Regions from separate parts of the Homo sapiens genome. Here region 2 is linked to region 1. The links are contacts of gene promoters, found by promoter capture Hi-C in blood cells and fetal thymus (Javierre and others, 2016). All regions are on one chromosome and are shown on one strand. The core of a region is centred on a gene start or on the middle of the fragment in contact, and the rest is flanking DNA. Distances in the headings are between cores, read along the strand shown.

Evidence for each region. Contacts are between HindIII fragments. The CHiCAGO score rates a contact against its expected background, and 5 or more counts as called.
Region 2: a contact is called between a fragment that was not itself captured here and the fragment with the promoter of TAS2R3 in region 1, in 1 of 17 cell types (monocytes). The highest score is 5.1, in monocytes.

What each region holds. Positions count from the first base shown.
Region 1 is chr7:141,762,636-141,765,848 of GRCh38, forward strand. TAS2R3 (taste 2 receptor member 3) reads left to right here and starts at 1,462. Exons shown (of 1, transcript NM_016943.2): 1 at 1,462-2,562. The coding sequence starts at 1,524. The coding sequence ends at 2,474. The HindIII fragment of the contact is 2,000 bases long and covers 868-2,867 here.
Region 2 is chr7:142,012,339-142,015,697 of GRCh38, forward strand. The region is part of intron 3 of MGAM (maltase-glucoamylase); the gene reads left to right. Among named protein-coding and RNA genes, the nearest start is that of MGAM, 18 kb to the left of the region's middle. The HindIII fragment of the contact is 1,409 bases long and covers 605-2,013 here.

The DNA of each region.
Region 1 (3,213 bases), core at 212-2,711:
AATGCACTACCCAGTATCTATTGTCCCTTCTGTATTTATAGAACCCAGATGTGACAGGGTGCACAGCACATGTACTGCATTCCTGTTCTTTTCAGTTAGGGGTTGCCAAGGGGCTATAGGCAGAAGTCACTTGGTGATGCTCTCAGGGAACTTTCTATATGAGTTACTCTTGGGAGGCGTATCCTGTGTGCTTCCCCAGACTCTCGTCCTACAGCATTTTCTTTTTTGTCTGAAATGTGGACATTTCATGGCTGGATTTCCAGTTGCCATCTTGGACCATGAGGCAGTCTTCAGAATGGAAGGTAGAAGAAGCTGGGATCTGCAATCACTATGCAACCACCATACCAGCCTGGACAGTTTGCCTCTGGACTGCTTTGGGAGACAAAAATATACCTCTCCTCTAAGCCATTTACTTGTGTTGTGTACTTAAACCTAATTCTTTCTTATTCATATATTGTTGACTTTATCTCCGTATACATGAGCAACTCTTTACTCTTATCTTTCTCTTACATGACCTTTCACGGCAAGTAGAAGTAAAATCTTTTCTTTATTCCCACAATCCTTTAGGTTTTAAACTAATGTCTCATTAAATTTAGGGAAGGGAGTAGGACATAAAAAGTATACAAACCTTAGCAATTAGCTTTAAAAAGAGTCAACATAAGCATACTTTAATACAAACTACGTACTGCTTAATTCTGCATATAGTCCTGAATGAAGATCCTTAATTAATAGCCGCTTGTTAAATAGAGGAGCTCTTAGGTTAAGAACAGAAGTATTGTTCTTATGCCTCCCTGGACAGTATTATAGCAGACTAGCAATCCAGAGTGGGTCTGAGACTTCCCACTGCAAGTCCAAGTTCGGGATGTAAGCTTGGCCACTTTCTGGTGAGGCTTCTCTTGCTAGCTTATAGCTTACAGCCATCTCTCTGCATGTAAGCCAGGCTCCAAGGGGCATGCCTTTTAATTCTAATCCATGATCAATGGCACTGAACTTTTACAATTTTATGCACTTAAACCTCACTCCAGGTGGATAGTGGCTCCTAGTGGAATTCCTTTTCTGTATCTCTGAGTCCTCCCTCCTGAGGAATGAGACTTTTTACTCTTCTGAGTAATTCTGAGCCGCCTCCATTTGGTGCCGCTCATCTTTCTGTTTTGGGTAACTCAGAGCCCTACACCCTTTGAAACTGAGTCCAAGTCCTCCATCATCTTTGTGACCTAGATCTCTTCCTTCTCTATGTGACACTGGACACTACTCATTTGCATTTTAGCAAAGAGCTGCAAAGTTTAGGTTCATTGATGGAATATGACAATCCATATCATCTGTGAAGAGGACAGACTAACCTGAAAGAGCCAGAGAGGATTTCCTAAATTGTGCTCTACGACAGACTAAATTGGGCAGAGACAAGAGACAGGTACAGTGAAGCAACAGGTAGAGGAGTAGATTAACGAGAAAAATATCACATCAGTGAGGAGATTCTATGTATCAACAGAAAGAACAAAGATCAGGGCTGCCTAATTGCTGACATGATGGGACTCACCGAGGGGGTGTTCCTGATTCTGTCTGGCACTCAGTTCACACTGGGAATTCTGGTCAATTGTTTCATTGAGTTGGTCAATGGTAGCAGCTGGTTCAAGACCAAGAGAATGTCTTTGTCTGACTTCATCATCACCACCCTGGCACTCTTGAGGATCATTCTGCTGTGTATTATCTTGACTGATAGTTTTTTAATAGAATTCTCTCCCAACACACATGATTCAGGGATAATAATGCAAATTATTGATGTTTCCTGGACATTTACAAACCATCTGAGCATTTGGCTTGCCACCTGTCTTGGTGTCCTCTACTGCCTGAAAATCGCCAGTTTCTCTCACCCCACATTCCTCTGGCTCAAGTGGAGAGTTTCTAGGGTGATGGTATGGATGCTGTTGGGTGCACTGCTCTTATCCTGTGGTAGTACCGCATCTCTGATCAATGAGTTTAAGCTCTATTCTGTCTTTAGGGGAATTGAGGCCACCAGGAATGTGACTGAACACTTCAGAAAGAAGAGGAGTGAGTATTATCTGATCCATGTTCTTGGGACTCTGTGGTACCTGCCTCCCTTAATTGTGTCCCTGGCCTCCTACTCTTTGCTCATCTTCTCCCTGGGGAGGCACACACGGCAGATGCTGCAAAATGGGACAAGCTCCAGAGATCCAACCACTGAGGCCCACAAGAGGGCCATCAGAATCATCCTTTCCTTCTTCTTTCTCTTCTTACTTTACTTTCTTGCTTTCTTAATTGCATCATTTGGTAATTTCCTACCAAAAACCAAGATGGCTAAGATGATTGGCGAAGTAATGACAATGTTTTATCCTGCTGGCCACTCATTTATTCTCATTCTGGGGAACAGTAAGCTGAAGCAGACATTTGTAGTGATGCTCCGGTGTGAGTCTGGTCATCTGAAGCCTGGATCCAAGGGACCCATTTTCTCTTAGAGTAACAGAGGGCATGGGGTGGAGCCCTTGAGCCTTTTGGCCTGGCTCAAGACTACAGGACTCTTCCTGACCTTCCTATGTTACCAGTTCCATAACATCAGTAGGAGAGAAACACTGACTGCTTTGCCCCTGGTCCCTGGGCACTTGTTCCAAGGTGAAAGCCACGCTTCTCACAGCCTCTCTCTGTATGGTGGTTGCGGAGGTGGGGAGGGTGCAGGAGTAGTAGTCTTGGAAATGACCATGTCGTAAGAACACTCTCACTATAAACATATGGTGCTGTATTTTAATAATCATCAGCTCGACATAATGAGTCTGATTACTAGTTTCAACTTAAATTAGATACTAACAGTGATAAACATAAAATTACATAGTAGACTTGAAGGAAAGAGCAAAAGCTTTGCAGTCCTATAGATGTGGGTTTGAATTCTGATTCTGGCCAAGATTTTTGGCCTCTGGTGAGTTACTTTAATTACCTGTCTGATTCCCTCTTCTGATCCCTACTGGCCATTTTAGCACAGTGTGTTGTGTACAGTACTCAGTAAGTGAAGGCTATTATTGCGCTAATATTGGATTGTGCAGCAACAGCAATTTCCATATGATTCCAGTTCCCACAAACACATTGTGTAATGATGAAAACAGTGGAAAGAAAATCAAGACCTTTAGATTCTAGATTCCAATTCAATCTTGCATTTCATGATCATTTTGCTAAAGTACATTTTCAAGTAATTATTTTGTAGAT
Region 2 (3,359 bases), core at 59-2,558, 250 kb after region 1:
ATCCTCACATGGCAGCACGTAGACAGCAAGAGACAGCCCACTGTCTCCTTTATAAGGGCACCTAATTCCCTTTGTCTGGGAGGAGGCTTCATGGCCTAATCACCTCTTAAAGGCCCCACTGTTAATACTAACATACTGGCAACACGTGAATTTTGGAGGGGGCACATTCCAGCCAAAGCACCAGTCTAACTGAAATTGCTCTAAGTCTTCTATTTTCTTAGACTTCTGTTTTCTTAGGGCAAGCTTCTCCATTTGTCTACTGAATTACAAACTATCCAAACTTAGTGGTTTGCAGCAACAATTGTTTTATTATATGTAGTGATTTTGTAAGTCAGAGATTCTGCCAGGGTTTGGCTGAATGGTTCTGTTCCACATAGCATTTACTGGGATTACATGATATGGTGGTATTTAGTTGGTGGCTGATCTTGTCTGGAGGTTTCAAGATGACTTTACTCACATACCTGGTACCTTGGTGAAAATGGTGGTAAGACTGACTGCACCCTCTTCCCCTCCATGTAGTCACGGAGTCTCTCTTGGTACTCTCTCCAGCAGGGTAGCTGAACTTCTTACATGGTGGCTCAGTGCTGCAAGAGACAGAGGCAAAAGCTTCCAGTTCTCTTAAATACCACACCTAAACCAGCATAGTATCACTTTTGATGCATTTTGTTGATCAGATCAGTCTCAGGGCGGCCCAGCTTCAACAGGAACAGCGACAGACTCCACCTCTTGACACAAAGTGTGTTAAGAGAACTTGATGGCCATTTTAAACAACTGCAGAGGAATGCTTATTTTTTTTTTCAGAGTAGCATAAAGGCTGCTGTTAATGGTGAAGGCTGTGGTGACCTGGACAATACAGATCAGAGCAGGATGGGGTGGCACAGGTTAGAGGAGTCAGCACTGGGAATAGGGTGGGTGGCAGAGTTGAGTGACTGAGGTCTAATGCGAATTGTGAGGAGCTCCTCCTGTTCCCTCCAGTGGCAGGAAATGGTTGATGCCACTGACTCACTCAAGCTGACTCTGCCTCAGTCTGGGATCATGTCCTTTTAACCAGCTTGCATTTGTCCTTGCAACTTTGCCCTCTTTCTTTCCTGAATGCTGTAGTTGCTGAAGTTTTGATTTTCTTTTTTTTTAAATCTTAGATCTGCTGTTTCCTAATGCCCTAATGGTTTATGCATTTCAAGGCGCCTGTAATCTTATCAGTAAATTATTTTCACCCCATATTGTGGAAAGACATAGGGAATTACTTTCGAGAAAGTTTCTAGTTGATAATTGATTTCACCTTTAGAATAGGCTTTTGAGAATAGGGTGGCAATTTCTCTTTTTTATACAAAAATATGTGAGAAAGTATTTTTAAAACTAAAAGGCCCACATGCTTACTACAGAAAATGTGTTAGGAGAGAAAGTCTGTGACAGATTCCTTTAGGTTTTTTCTGGTTCTTCTCTCTACCCATTACACTGGTCAGCCCACAAGCACCTGGGGCTTCTCTGTTTTCCTGTAACAGTAGGAATCATGGATTATCATTTAGTGGTTTTCATTTTACTACTTTCTGTTTGCTTCTCTTTTTCTCTATTTCCTAGGCTCTGTCCCAGAAATTCTGATTTAATTCTTAAGGAGTGGATCCCAGGCCTGCTTATTTTTGTAATTTGCCAGGTGATCCAAATGTGCAGCTAAGATTAATAACCATTGGTCTAGAGCAGCAGTTTTCCAACATTGTTCTGTATTAGCATCACGTAGAGAGCTAATAAAATCCTTAGCACTCCAGCTTCAGTGAAGGAGGATAAGGCCTGAGCTTTTATACTTTTCCTGAATTTTCCAGGTGATTCTGACAGGGACCATAGTTTGAGAATATAGTAAAATGTGTTTGACACAATGTGCAAAGTTGTACATTTTTCAGCAGTTCTGTAGGTCGTTATGTTGGAAGGGACTTTGGCAAAATATGGAATGTTTTCAGTCTCTGTTTTTATATTGTTAGGCATGATTATTATAGTCTTCTTGGTAATCCAGTATATGAAAGCTTGAAAAATAATGACACGTTTGGGACTTGATAAAAGATAGGGAGTTGAGAAAATAGGCAGTTCTATATTATTTTCTATTATTTATTTTCACAATGGTTTTGATTTTTTCTATATAGCGTTAACTTCTTTGAAATAATTATTCATAAATATTTAAGATATACAAAAATATATAACCATTATCCAGCTTAAGAAATAAAATATTATCAGCAGAGATGAAGTCCCCCACGCATATCCCTTCTGTATTATTACCTTTTCCTCCATCCTCTTTAGAAGTAACCACACTTTTGAAATTGATATTTACCATGCATTCCTTTCAACCTTTACTACCTCTATATATACTTGTAAATAATAGATATATACAGCCTATAAACAAAATGCATTTTTGTTTATGCGCTTAACATTGTGAGATTTAACTATGTTGATAGATATCTCTAGTTCATTTATTTTGCTATAAAACTGGTACACAATTGTATAAAATTATGTCAATTTTATGGCAAAAATAAATCAAAATCATTCTACAGTAAAAAAAGTTTTTCTTCAATATATTGAAGTTACATCAGTCCCATTCTGAATATTTTTGTAAGTTTTTTTTTACTTGCATCTGTGTGATTTTAGATATATATCTTAAGTTTACTAGACATTATCAAATTGATCTCCAAAGTGGCTGTGCCGATTTACCATCTCACTGTCATTTTCTGTATCTTCTTTGGAATTGACAGTCTTTTAAAGTTTTGCCATTTGAGGATTATAAAATAGTGTTCTGTTGTGGTTTCAGTGCTAATTTTTCTGAATACTAATATTGGTGAACATCTCTCATTTAGTTCTTTTCTGTGAATTTTTCTGTCTTGCCCGATTTTATATTGAGATGTTTATCTTCTTGATGTGTACAGTCTTCCCGTTTGTTCATTCATGTGATTCTGGATTCTTATTCTTATCATATATGTTGCAAATATTTACTGTTAAGAGGCTTTGCTCATCTATTTTATACTGTCTTGATGAACAAAAGTTTTACATTTTAATAGAGTCAAGCCTATCAACAATTGTGACTTATGTTTTGATAACTATGTATTCCCATATTACATTGTATCTCAAAAACAATTCCAGGAAGACTAAAAGCCTAAAGGCAAAAAACAAAAAGTTATAGATTTAAGAAGAGAAAAAAAGAATCTAATATAATAATAATTGAGTTATTCATTCTATTTTTTCTATAAATTTTCTTGAATTTCTACCGAGACAATATTTTGTCTGGAAGTAATGGATGATTTGGCTTCATTGTTTTCAGTCTTGTACATTTTTCTTTCTTGTCCTCTTGAATTGTTAGAACCTCCAATATATTTTTAAAT